2 separate regions of the Homo sapiens genome follow, and region 2 is linked to region 1. The links are contacts of gene promoters, found by promoter capture Hi-C in blood cells and fetal thymus (Javierre and others, 2016). All regions are on one chromosome and are shown on one strand. The core of a region is centred on a gene start or on the middle of the fragment in contact, and the rest is flanking DNA. Distances in the headings are between cores, read along the strand shown.

The links. The method cuts DNA at HindIII sites, captures the fragments that hold promoters and counts their contacts. A CHiCAGO score of 5 or more calls a contact.
Region 2: a fragment that was not itself captured here is called in contact with the fragment with the promoter of UTP14A in region 1 in 14 of 17 cell types (activated CD4 T cells, non-activated CD4 T cells, total B cells and 11 more); the score reaches 22.8 in activated CD4 T cells.

The regions. Positions count from the first base shown.
Region 1 is chrX:129,902,912-129,909,962 of GRCh38, reverse strand. It overlaps UTP14A (UTP14A small subunit processome component), which reads right to left and starts at 3,799. Exons shown (of 15, transcript NM_006649.4): 1 at 3,727-3,799; 2 at 2,521-2,596; 3 at 1,833-1,903; 4 at 1,229-1,293. The coding sequence starts at 3,752. It overlaps LOC105373335 (a long non-coding RNA gene), which reads left to right. Exons shown (of 3, transcript NR_188631.1): 3 at 1,410-2,699. The HindIII fragment of the contact is 20,573 bases long and covers 3,367-7,051 here.
Region 2 is chrX:129,636,785-129,643,835 of GRCh38, reverse strand. No RefSeq gene overlaps it. Among named protein-coding and RNA genes, the nearest start is that of APLN, 15 kb to the left of the region's middle. RefSeq lists a silencer at 6,065-6,234. The HindIII fragment of the contact is 481 bases long and covers 2,426-2,906 here.

The DNA of each region.
Region 1 (7,051 bases), core at 2,550-5,049:
TATTCGCTACTTTAACCTTGGTATCTACAACAGTTCCTGATACTGCTACCTAGTAGAAACACAATAAATATCCACTGAATAAGTACGCTTGGAATACATTGTTATTTGCCCTAGGAGGCTACACCAGTGATTACTACAAATGCAAGACCCATTCTAGCTGCCTAAGTTGTGAACAGGGTGAAAAAGATTTGGCATCTAGACTCAGTATTAGGATAAAATCCCATGGCTGCCGCTTATTAGAGCATGTATTCTGAACAGGGGCAATTTTACCACCCCGCCACCCCAGGGTGAAAATTGGTTCTTTCTGGGAGAGTATGAAAAAAATCTTAGATATTACAATGTTTTGTGTCCCTCCAAGGCTCAACTCTGTCCAACAAACTCTTATTCCTTAGGACTTGATTTCCTGGGGAAGGGGCACAGGGGGAGGGATACAATGAGGAAAAAAATGTCTTGAGGCCGCGCACGGTGGCTCACGCCTGTAATCCCAGCACTTTGAGAGGCTGCGGCGGGTGGATCACGAGGTCAGGAGATCCAGACCATCCTGGCTAACACGGTGAAACCCCGTCTCTACTAAAAATACAAAAAACTAGCCAGGCGCGGTGGCGGGCACCTGTAGTCCCAGATACTCGGGAGGCTGAGGAAGGAGAATGGCGTGAACCTGGGAGGCGGAGTTTGCAGTGAGCCAAGATCGCACCACTGCACTCCAGCCTGGGCGATAGAGTGAGACTCTGTCTCAAAAAAAAAAAAAAAAAAAAAGGCTTGAAAGGCTCCTCTCAGGGGAGCAATAAAAAAGCAAAGGTTGAGAAATACTGTACTAGGCAAAGGCCCTTGAATAAGTAATGTGACCTCTCTGAGCTCTGGCTGAAGAGAATATTTGCCTGTCTCCTAACTCAAAGCATTGTTAAGAGAACTGAAATAAAAATGAAATTGTACAAATATGAATTATGACTAAGTTACTAAGAGGCAGCTGTCTTTATTCATGTCCATCTATCCTATAAGTATCTCATCAAACTCTGTAGGATACCTTGACCACAGCCTTCTAGGCTTTCTTTGAGAGATGGAAGAAACTGAAGGGCATCTGACTACACTTCTTCACCCACTCTCCCAGGTATTTATGGTATGAGTCATTAACCACATCAAAAACAGTTCCTAGGGGGGGTGAGGTGAACACAATGCCCTTGGAACTCCACAGGTTTCATGCATGGGTATCTTCCTTTGTTCAACTTACCTTCAGAACTGACATTGAACTCTGACACCTTCAGACTAGCCTCAGACCTCTCAGCCAATTTCCGCCTGAAATTAGGCAAAACGATATAATAGGAATGAATAAATTTTATGGGGGCTTGGGGTTGGGAGAGACAAACACTTCTCTCTTCAAACAGGGCTTTGGTTTCTTGTATTTCTTCTAGGGTCATGTTTTGTCATGATGCAGCAAGGAGATCTGTTCCTAACTTGGACTTGGTTGTCTAACCCTCATCTCTTCTCTTTATTACAAGGTAAGCATAGTGGAAAACATATTGGACTTAGATTCAAACACACCTGAACCTGTAACTTATGAGCCAGGTGACCTTGGGGGTAAGTAAATTTATTTCTCTAATGGGGTTAAATAATGCCTACTCAATGCTTTAAAAGATTTTCAGTGTGGAATAAGACTGCAAATGCTTACAATAATAGCACTAAGACTAATAACAGCTAACAGTTAATTATATAATGCTTACTATATGCTAGGCACTGGTATTAAGGTCTTTACATGAAGCACTCAATAAATATTAGCTGCAGAGAAATCTCACGGAATTGACTATATAACCTGCCCTAACTGACGGGAACGTTACCTATTCTTTCCATCAAGGGAACTGATTGCTTCCAGAAGCTTTTGATGCTTTCTCTCTCCATCATTGTCCCCCTAAGACACAGAAAAGGAAAAACAATCAGGATGAGGGGGAGGGAAAAGACAACATGGAAATTGAGTCTCATGTAAAATCTCTTGTTATTTATTTATTTATTTTTGAGACGGCGTCTCGCTCTGTTGCCCAGGATGGAGTGCAGTGGTGTTATCTTGGCTCACTGCAAGCTCCGCCTCCCAGGTTCATGCCATTCTCCTGCCTCAGCCTCCCAAGTAGCTGGGACTACAGGCGCCTGCCACCACGCCTGGCTAATTTTTTGTATTTTTAGTAGAGACGGGGTTTCACTGTGTTAGCCAGGATGGTCTCAATCTCCTGACCTTGTGATCTGCCCGCCTTGGCCTCCCAAAGTGCTGGGATTACAGGCATGAGCCATCACCCGGGCCTGTTTTGGTTGGTCTTATAAATTATACTTATGCAACTTGAGGGTAGTGATTGTAACTTAGTTTCCAAATCCTCATAGCACTTAATATGATACAGTATCTTATATATGAAACACTAACCATTTGCAATTTATTTGAGAGACCTGAACAAATACATAGAACATTGTCACACCCTTCCATTCCAGGAATGTGCTCTCTACCCTAATTTTGAAGGCAGTTTAGCAATTGTCACCCACCTCATCTTCACTCTCACTCAAGAGGTAGTCTTTTGGCAAATCCGCTAGTTCTTCCTGTTGGCTCAAAGCCAGAAGGCTGTTAAAAGAGGCAACAGAGAAATGTGAATGCAATATACCCATGTAACAAACCTGCATATGTATCCCTTAATTATAATAAAAGTCGAAATTAAAAAAAGAAATATTATTATTTGAAGCAATGTCTAATCTATTAAAACAATCTCGAAAACATTGTAATTTCAGCACAGAATAGCCCTATCCCTCAGAAGATATATAAAGCAGCGTGAATGCCTTTGGAAACTTGTCAAGATGTGAAATTTAGACTGAAGTCAGGCATCACCTCCAAGAGTGATGCCTGACTTCAAAACTGCATGTAAAAGAGCTATCACTTTTCAGGGATTGGCACAACATTTCCTATGACCTATGGGAAGCTGTAAAAATGTCAGACCCTAGAATAATATGGCCAAAGACGCTGTTGCTAGCTAGCCCTGGAGGCAAGGCAGTTTCACGATTAATATTTCTAAGCATCCTCCATATATTTGACTCATTGATAGGCAGCCTAATCAAAAGTGTTATCTTGATCCTTGTTCCCAGGAATGGAGAAACAGGTCGAAAGCAGCTGGGTAAGCCACTTTCCCTGGGGCTTGCTTAGTAAAGTAGGTGCTTAACTAAGGAGATTGGTACCCACAAACAAATTATAAAATGTACCATTACCTAACAGCATATATTATTAGTATTTGCAAAGCCAACATTACTAAACGGACTACATTTAGTTCCGGGGGCGGGGTGGGGGGGGCACAAAACATCACAGGAGCCAAAACGTGGTGGATGACTCCAATCAGCAAAGCTTTCCAAGATTCGGGGAGTTTATAACGCCTGCACTGCCTGCGCAGAGGATTAAATCGGGCCGCGACAGAGGCAGAAAAAGGGGCCACGTGACGAAAAATGTGAAACACAGTAAATGAGCTGGGGAGGCAGAAACAGCATCAGGACCAACAGGGATGCGGCTATACAGCTGAGGAGCGGAGTAAGCGAATGAAATTAAATTAAAAGGGCTTTAAAGGCTGGATCGCGGAAAATAGGAACGAATGGCCAGCTCTTCAGGGGAACCACTGCCATCTGTTAAAGGGGGGGCTCCCATTTCCCAAAAGCTGGGGAACCCGGCCCCCAACGAGACCCAGAATCCCCCCTCCCCTCGTTGCCCTTCACCTCTCTGCAAGCCGGTTCGCAGTCATTTCAGCAGCCAGCTTCTCTCACATGGACCAAGAACGGAAGCCGAAGGAAAGCAATTTCCGTGCGGGCCGCAAAGCAATTTCTGTTTCCGTCAATCGCTCGCGACGTACACGTCACTTCCGTTCCGTACGAGGCGTGAGAGAAGCAGGAGCCGTGTAGGGAGGGGCCTGCAGAAAACTGGGAGGCCTGAGATGAAACGGCTGTCAGCGGGTGGGGCATTCCTTTCTCCACCCACCCCGTATTTCTCTGGCGCGCGGGTGTCTGTCCTCCTGGCCCCTGGTTTCCACGTGGCCCAAGGTGGGTTAGCTTAGGGCGACGGTGCTGCGCTCTCAGGGGCTGAGCCCGCGCCTTCATTCGTCACTGCAGAATCCAGAAGGAAAGACTACAGCGCCCGTCCTTGTGCGACGGCGTCCTGCAAGCCGACCACAAGCCAGCTCGGGGGTTTATTGAATGCCTATTAAGTGGCCAGATTGTGCCGGGCCCCGGAGATCCGATGGTGAACATAACAAGTTTCCTTCCATTTAAGGAAAAATCGCCTTTGATCCCTTGTAATTGCAGCTTTGTTCTTCATTTCCTGAGTCAAAAGATTTTTTTTATCCAAGAAGGGGCCATCAGTAACTACGCTTCCTCACCTCCCATCAACTTAAAAAAATTTTTTTAAACAACTTTTTTTCTCCCATCAACTTTTAAGAATTTTATTTATTTATTTTTGAGACAGAGCCTTGCTGTGTCGTTCAGGCTGGAGTGCAATGGCGTGATCTCAGCTCACTGCAACCTCCACCTCCCGGGTTCAAGCGATTCTCCTGCCTCAGCCTCCCGAGTCGCTAGGATTACAGGCACCCGCCACCATGCTCGGCTAATATTTGCATTTTTAGTAGAGACGGGGTTTTGCCACGTTGGCCAGGCTGGTCTAGAATTCCTGGCCTCAAGTGATCTGCCCGCCTCGGCCTCCCAAAGTGCTGAGATTACAGGTGTGAGCCACCGGGCCCGGCCTAATATATATATATATTAATTAATGATTGTAGAAAAATAATAGACAAGAACATTCTTTTCATTTTTTTTTTTTGAGACGGAGTCTCACTCCGTCGCCCACGCTGGAATGCAGTGGTGCGATCTCAGCTCACTGCAAGCTCCGCCTCCCGGGTTCACACCATTCACCTGCCTCAGCTTCCTGAGTAGCTGGGACTACAGGCGCCTGCCACCACACCCGGCTAATTTTTTTTTTTTTTTTAAGTAGAGACGGGGTTTCACCGTGTTAGCCAGGATGGTCTCGATCTCGTGACCTCATGATCCACCCGTCTCGGCCTCCCAAAGTGCTAGGATTACAGGCGTGAGCCACGGCGCCCGGCCCGTTCTTTTCATTCTTGTAATCCATTCCCATTTTGCTTTTGCCCCATTATTCCACAGAAATTGCTCTGGACAAGATCAGCGACACCCAAAGTTGCTAAATAAAACGGATACCTCTCAGTCTTTGGCTTCCCAGAACTTTGTGTGGCATTTAGTAACTGTTGATTTCTTTTCTTTTCTTTTCTTTTCTTTTCTTTTCTTTTTTTTGAGACGGAGTTTCGCTCTTGTTGCCAAGGCTGGAGTGCAGTGGCGCGATCTTGGCTCACTGTAACCTCCGCCTCCTGGGTTCAAGTGATTCTCCTGCCTCAGCCTCCCGTGTAGCTGGGATTACAGGCATGCGCCACCACGCCTGGCTAATTTTTGTTTTTTTTTTTTTTTTGAGACGGAGTCTCGCTCTGTCACCCAGGCTGGAGTGCAGTGGCACAATCTCAGCTCACTGCAACCTCTGCCTCCCTGTTTCAAGTGATTCTCCTGCCTCAGCCTCCCGAGTAGCTGGACTACAGGCACATGCCACCATGCCCGGCTAATTTTTTGTATTTTTAGTAGAGATGGGGTTTCACCGTGTTAGCCAGGATGGTCTCGATCTCCTGACCTCGTGATCCGCCCTCCTCGGCCTCCCAAAGTGCTGGGATTACAGGCGTGAGCCACCGCGCCCAGCCTAATTTTTGTATTTTTAGCAGAGATGGAGTTTCGCCATGTTGGCCAGGCTGGTCTCGAACTCCTGGCCTCAGGTGATCCTCCCACCATGGCCTCCCAAAGTGCTGGGATTATGGGCGTGAGCCACCGCACCCAGCCGATTTGTTTTCTTATTCATGAAATATTTTTGGCCATCTAGTATGTGCCAAGCCTCTAGGCATTGGGAATACATTGGTGAACAAAGCAGATATGTCCCATTGCTTCCTAGAGCTTACTTTCTAGTGGGATTAAAGACAATTTTGTCATTGTTGAAACTCCATCCTGAGATTTCATGACACCATTCTCTCCTGGTATCAGCCCTATGACCATCTTCCTCAGTCTTCTCTGCTGGATGCTTTTAATATACTTTTAATATGCTTACTCCCTAAATGATGATGTTTCCGAGAATTCTGCTCTAAGCCCTCTTTATTTATTACAGATACTCTTCCTAAGTGAAATTGCCTTTAACAGCTGTATGAGAACAAAATTTATATCTCTAGCCCTAATCTCTTTCTTGAGCTCCAGACTGGTATATCTGATTGCCTCCTGGCTATTCTTTTTGCCCCACAAGCACATCAAACATAAAATGACCAATAATTTCTATCTTTTCCACCAGAGTTCCTTTCCTGAATTTCCCATTTGTATGATTGGCCCATCAACTACCCAGTTAGTAAAATCAGAAGTCTGAGAGTCATCTTAGATTCCCCTCCCCCTTATGCTCCACAGCTGTTTGCCCACATTATCAGTTTTACTTCCCTGAGTCTCTTTCAAATATCTCCTTACCTTTCTCCATCATGTTTGCCATTGTATTAGTTCAGACCTTTGCAATTTGAAGCCTGTGGTATTGCAGTAATCTTATAGAAAGGGGGAGCATTATAGCATTTTCATACTCATGAAATATGAAGAATGAACGAATAAATACATTTCATGATGAAGAACCTGAGTTTTAAAGCTGGACTCTGGGATTGAATCTTAGCTCTGTCACTTACTAGTTTTATAATTTTTTGGGGGGGTTGGGGGAGACGGAGTCTCGCTCTGTCACCCAGGCTGGAGTGCAGTGGCGTGATCTTGGCCCACTGCAACCTCCACCTCCCGGGTTCAAGCAATTCTCCTGCCTCAGCTTCCCAAGTAGCTGGGACTACAGGCATACGCCACCACACCCAGCTAATTTTTTGTATCTTAATAGAGACGGGGTTTCACCATGTTGCCCAGGCTGGTCTCGAACTCCTGAACTCAGGCAATCCACCCGCTTCGGCCTCCCAAACTGCTAGGATTATAG
Region 2 (7,051 bases), core at 1,417-3,916, 260 kb after region 1:
TACAATACAAACTCATAGTACAAGAGGGCACAGTGTGGACTGGTGGGATCAGGGAAAGCTAATAGAGGCTGAGTGATAAAAACAGGCCCTAGAAGGCACAATAGCATTTGGTTAAGTTGGTGAAAGGATGATGGGCAGAGACGGCGGGGACAAGGAAGGGGGAGCAGCCACCAGGGTCTATGGAACCTACGTAGTCAACTGGATACTATTGGGTGGATCCAAGTGTGACCTCCTTGGGGCAGGGGATAAGGAAAAGAAAGTTGGTGGCTTCTGTAAAGATAATTAGACCTCAAACCAAAAGAAGGCTGAACATATGATATGCGTTGCTACTACCCTTTGGAGATATCTAGACCAAATAAATACAACAGAAGCAGAGTAGGGCATTGCTTTTCAAAATGCAGAGCTTAGGAAAAGAAATAGGAGTTCACTTAACTGATTGTTTCTGGACCGGAGGTCCTGAACTGAGAGGTTGACGAGTGGGGGCAGAGAATCTGAAAACCAACACTCTTTCAAATCCATCCGGAATTAGGCAGCCTCTGAAATGACAGAGATTAGGGAGGCAAACAGACTCAGACCACACACAGCTTTTCAGGACCCCAGGTGTGGTGTAAAATGAGCCATAACTGCTTAGAAATCTAACATTTCAGACTCTTCTGTAGGCCTAGCTGGCTTGGTACCCCCTGTAGGGGCTGGGCTCCTCCGTATTGAGGGAACCATGAGGCCTGGCCTGAGCAGCCATTCTGAAGTCCTTATAGAATTCGATTCTCCAAGCCTAAAGGTTACTCAACTGAAATTTCTCAATCCAAAGTTTCTTTCTGACCAGAGTGTGCCTGTGCCAGCTAACTGCCAAAGGAGATGGCAGAGATTTACTCAGTATCTTCCTCTCCTGGCTTGAGAAGGGCCGCTGACTCAGCCAGCATTTCTTGGTAACTCTTGAAAGGAAGGCTTCTTCTCTAGGACTCCTTTGAAAATCCAGCTTTTCCTATGCAGTGGCCAGTGCTCAGAGAAGGAGCCCAGCAAGGGACTCCCCTTGCCGCTGTCTTGGACTTCAGCCAAAGGCCCAAGCCGCATCCAGGACACTTCCTTGAATGTTTCAAATCAGCCGCCAACAGACTTTTTCTGTAAAGAGCCAGATAGTTTTCTTGACTTTTTGAGCCATATGGTCTCTATCTCAACTCAAACCTCTTTGAGTTTGATGCTGCTGCCTACTTTTTAGCACTGTGATCAGGATTGACTGTGATGATGCAGGTAAAGTTTTTGGCACATGCAAAAGCAGCCATACACAATACATACACCAGTGGACATGACTGTGTTCCAAAAAAATCTTTATAAAAGCAGGTGGCTTCCCAGCCCTGTCTCAAATGAAGCATCAGCAAGCCCTTCAACTCAGCCCCTGAACCCTTGCCTGGAGTCCAAGGGGAAGACTTACATTCTGCAGCAAGGTGTAGAATTAAGTGATTTAATACACTGGTTATGAGATGGCCTCTGATAATAATCATACTAACAAAGTGATTCCAGTGGAAGGGGAAGTCTGGAGTCAGATCAGGGTTCAAATCCTGGCACTACCATTTACTCACCTGTGTGACCTTGCAGCAAGGGTCTTGATCTGGATGAGCCCATGTTTCTGCTTTAGGCAGGATGCTGCTGCCCAATTTATAGCACTGTGGTCAGGATTGACCGCGATGATGCAGGGAAAGTGTTTGGCACAGTGCCCGGCCCATGTTACAAGCCTACCAAGTGGGAGCTATTATTATCTCTGTTAAGCCTCATTCTAGCCCTGAGAACTGGACAGGGCAGCCATCATTACCCCAATTTATAGATGAAAAATCAGGCTCATGGAGGTGAGGTCACTTGTTCAAATTCATAGAGCCACTCATGGGTGAGTAGAGCTTCAAACCTGGGTCTGTCCCCGGCTCAGGTCAGCTGCTGCTATGGTTTGAATGCATCCTTCAACTTCATGTTTTGGAAATTTAATCCCTAAATTCATATGTTGATGGTATTTGGAGGTGGTGCCTTTGGTAGGTAATTAAAATTAAATAAGGTCATCAGGGTTGTGCCCCTATGATGGAACTGGTGGCTTTATAAGAAGAGGAAGAGAGACCTGAGCTGGCACACTCTTGCCCTCTTGCCATGTGATGCCATTCTACCACGTCATGATTTAGCAAAAAGTCCCTCACCAGACGCCAGTGCCATGCCCTTGGACTTCCCAGCCTCCAGAGCTGTGAGCTAAATAAACTATTTTTTTTATAAGTTACCCAGTCTGTGGCTACAGAAAACAAACTATGATAGCTTCCCTGCTTCTGCTAAGGGTCCTCTTTCCCACCATGAGTGTGCCTCAGTCACTAGAAATTTCCGGTCTCCCAGATAACCTTTAGGGCCTCCCCAGGGACAGATTACGTCCTCGGCATTTTTCCTTGTAGAAGCTTAGCTTGGGCAGCAGCCCAGGAGGCCTCTCCAAAGGTGTTAAGTGCTCACCATTAGCACCTGATCTGTCTGGAATTGTGGAGCCAGGCACCTGTTCCAGCACACCTGCTTGGCCATTGGGGTTCCTTTCTGCACAAGGCCAGGGGCTCAGAAACGTGGGTTCCAGTCCTGAATCTGCTTCTACCCAGGGCTTGCTGGGTAGCTTAGCAAAGTCTTTCCTTGGCCCTTTCTGGGTCTCAGCCTCCTCACCTGCCCAGGACACCTGGGTGGGTAGATGTGAAGCACCTGCTTGTGACTAGGGATTTGTTGGGGTCCCAGCTAACAGTGGGGGGTGATTCAGGCTGCCCTCCAGAGGCAATTCAGGACCTGACCCAGGGACCTGTAGGGAGGAGCTCTGGGAGAAGAATTAGGCATATGGCAGGAAAATGGGAACCTAAGCCAGTGAGGAAGTCCACTGCTGGGTTACGTGGGTTGCACAAGCTTCCCATAACCCCAGGGCCTGCTGGAACCTCCATTCCATACTTCTCCCTTTGCACAAATTAAATGCTTTCTGATCTTCCCTGAATGTTAAAAAATTGGCACACTGCTGCAGAGCTAGCCTGGTGGTGTGAAACTTGGGGTTCTGAGCTCTGGATCCTAACCCCAGCTTGGTCAGTAACTGGCTGTGTGACTCCAGGCAGGTCTGTTCATCTATCAGGGGTCCTGGTTCTCCCTCATCTATTTTCATAGGATGACAATCTCTGCTTTCCCTACCTTAAACACACAGAATCATAGAAGGGCAGAGCTGACATGAGCCTGAGAGATCATTCAGTACCCTAAGCCCTGTTATTTTTACAAATGAAGAAAGTGGGACTCAGAAAGGATAAGTGAACGCTTAAGGAACATAGCTAGATAGTCCTAGCAAACTCATGTAGAGCGCTTCTCATGTGCCAAGCACTGTTTGAGGAACTTCACCTGTCCTGACTTAGTCAGTCCCCATCACAATCCCATTTTATAGCTGAGGAAACTGAGTCACTGAGAAGGTAAGCCATTAGTCTAAAGATCTTCTGTGGTATGTGCAAACGAACTGAGAGAAACAAGGTGGCATTGCTTTAAAGGAAGGCAAAGGCACTGCTGAAATGCCAAGCATTCCCTCCAGGGCTGCAGTCACCTCTCGTCTGTAGGGGAGGGGCTTCGCTTTGGCACCCTCAGTCCCAGGGCAACAGAACTGCTTGTGATTTGGGGGCTGTGAGAGGCCTGTTGGAAAGAGGGTGCCTCTTTTTCCATCTAGGCAGAGACATCTCTGGCTCCCTCCCCAGCAGGTGTAGGGATAGAGGCTGGTGACTTTGGCATACGTTATGGGGGGTTTCATCCCCCATGTCTCTAGGCTCCTGAGCTTTCTGGAAGCCTGGAGTTCCTCTCTCCTTTGGAAATTCCCAACTCCTCAGATGTGAGGGATATGGAAAGATAAGAGAGGATAAACAAAGCAGGGAGGAAAAAGGTCCCAGTGAGGAGTGCAGGGGGATGGAGGAGGGAATCTCACCACACAGCCCCTTCCACCTCCAGCACTGCAGAGACCTTCTGATCTGATTATCCTCTTTCATCCTTCCCTCTACTCTGGGCTACCCTCTAGCTCAGCTCCACAGCCTGCCCCACCCCCATTCCCACTCCCAAATTGCCTGTCAAGTTTTAGGTCCCATGCCTTGTGTAAGTTTCAAAAGGAGCTCCCCTTCTCTCAATCTATGCCCAAACTTTTAGAACCCAAGCCTATAAAGAGCTCTTTGGCCTACCCCTACCCCAAAACAATCAGCTAAAAAATGCCTACCCTTGGCCAGGCGTGGTGGCTCATGCCTGTAATCCCAGCAGTTTGGGAGGCCGAAGTGGGTGGATCATCTGAGGTCAGGAGTTCGAGACTATCCTGGCCAACATGGCAAAAACCCGTCTCTACAAAATACAAAAATTAGCTGCGTGTGGTGGTGGGCACCTGTAGTCCCAGCTACTCAGGAGGCTGAGGCGGGAGAATCCGTTGAACCTGGGAGGCGGAGGTTGCACCACTACACTCCAGCCTGGACGACAGAGCAAGACTCCATCTCAAACAAACAAGCAAAACAAACAACAGCAAAAGAAAAAAAAAAAACGCCTACTCTGTGCAGGACACCATGCAAGGGACAGTGGAGGAGGAACAGTGGAGAAAGACTTGGTCCTCACCTTTCCTCTGGGAGGCACCAGCGAAAGGTGTGTGGTGAGGGTGTGACATCCCTCATTAGCTGTTGTAGCCACAGCGCCCTCTGTACCACTCCCCCGCAACCCCAGGGATGTTCTCCTGGCCCTGAGCCTGCGCACCGGCCTCAGCAGGACCTGCGAGGGAGGGAGCTTCATACCCATCTTTTAGGAAGCAGAAGCAGGGAAAGCCTCAGCCTAAGTCACCCAAAACCCATTTCCAGTGCTCTTCTAGTTTCCCCAGACTTCCCTTCCCAGGTTCTCCACCTTCCTCCAATTCTCCGGGTCCTCCAACTGCCAGCCAAGGCTCCCCTCCCCCATGAATCCTCCCTGGATGCTCTCCTAGCCCCGATGGTCACCTGCAGGTGAGGCCAGAATTGGAACCCAGACTTCTGCCCGCCACCTTCAAAAGCCTTTGTGCTCGCCAACTGTACACCTCCTCACCAGACTAGGCATGGCCATAGCCACAATGGAGGTGACGATGCTGACAGTGATAATGAGGGAATGTAATGATCATACCTTCCAGCATGGGATGCGGAGACTTAAACATCCTGACTCCTCCAAGTTCCAAGCCTGGGTCAGTCACTTCACCTTTCTAGGCCTCAGCTTTACCTTTTCTAAAATGGAAGTAAGAATCCCTGGCTCCCTCTCGGGCTTCTAGTGACTGAAGTTTCTGAAGTTAAAATGTTTGGTACAGTAGAGAGTGCTGTGTGTGTAACGGGGAAAAAACCCCATCGTTCTCAGCGGGTACCATGAAGACCACCCTGTTTGCATGTGAAAGTGCTTTTTGATCTGTAAAAGAGCTATGGGAATTCATTTCTCAGCATTCGCTGAATGTTTATTGAGGGCCTACTTTGTACCACATTCCTTAATACCTGGAGAGGGAAACAGATGTTATTCAAAAATCACAACCGAATGTCTAACCAGGAACTGTGGCAAGGGCCCTGGAGGCGAAAAACAGGCCTCTAGGAAGTTTATCACTGAGTGCACGATCTGGGGTCAGAGAAAGCTTCCTGGAGGTGAAGTGGGAGCTGACACCTCAGGAGTGAGTAGGGGTTAAGCTGGAGAAAGGAGGTCTCAGCAGAGGGAGCACAGGGCTTGTGTCCAAAGCACCAAGGTGGGAGGAAGCAGATGTGATTTATTGTTAAACCCATTTCACAGACAACGAAGCAGGCCCTGAGAGAGGCTGTGACTTGCAGAATGAGAGATTCCACTGAACTCCTGTGTGCTGGCTGATTCCCTCTGTGGCTCTAGGCTGGGCAAGCAGGATGTACTATGGTCACTAAGACATCCTCTTCTGATAACTTGCCCCAGACTCTATCAATTCACCAGCTGAATATGAGGGGCTGAGAATTCCTCACCCACAGGAGTGGCTGGCTACATGCATCTGGGTCAGCTTGATGGCCGGACACTCTGGAAACTTCTTATATGTTTCCCTTTCTTTGCAGTCGGCCTCTCTTTCTTCTCCAAGCCTGCTTATTCTTTGGGGGAAACCCAGTGTGTCATGAGAGGCTGCCCCCTGCTGGCTGAGTCCTGGAACTGCAGGGACTTCTTCAGGCTTGCGTCAAGTCTAGGCACAGGCCATTTTAAGAAAGTTCCCGAGGTCATCTCCTCTTTCCTGTTCTGCAGGAGGTGTGAGAACGAGCAAACGCCAAAGTGTGTGTAGAGGAGTGGCTGACTGGCGTTCATCAAAGACGACTTTTTTAATGGGGGCAGCTCTAAAATTGCTTCTGCTCCAAGATTCTGAGTCTGAACAATTTTGTGGGTGTGCCCCACTGACTTGAGAGGATGCCTCTACAGGTCATGGGCATACGTGGGCTCCATGCATGTGCTTGTGTGAACACCGAATGGGTATGCATATTTGCTCCACGCTGTGTAGCATATTATAGTCCGTATGCATGTTCACTGAGAGAGGGAGAGAAGTTGCCACCCAGAGGCACCAGGGGTGAAGTCTGTGAGGGCAGAGGGCAGCATCTGGGTCTCCAAGGCCAGGCCAGGCCCCATTTGCATCCTTACAGGACTGTCCTAGGCTGTCTGGCCCTCGAGCTGTCCCAAGGAGCTCTTCCCTCAGTGAACCCCATGTTCCCACCAGTTTTCCCCCTACCAGATACACCAACCCTGCCCACCCCCCCACCACCAGCTGCTGTGGGAAATCTCATACCTTCTGGTGGCCATAGGCAGATCTGATTCCTGCGTGTGCTCATGGGACCTCTCAGGGAGCAAACCCTCCCTTCACCCGGCCCCTGCCAAGGCCCACATCCAGGGCTGCTGTTTTCCTCTATCTGGGCTGGTGCATCCCTATAGCGTGTTTCTGGCCAGCAAACATTCTAATCAGTTGGTGTCCAGACCTTGCTGGCTATTAAAGATTTTTCACTATTGCCCCTGTCCAATTCCCATACTCCCAGGTAACGTGTGCATTTTAACCTGG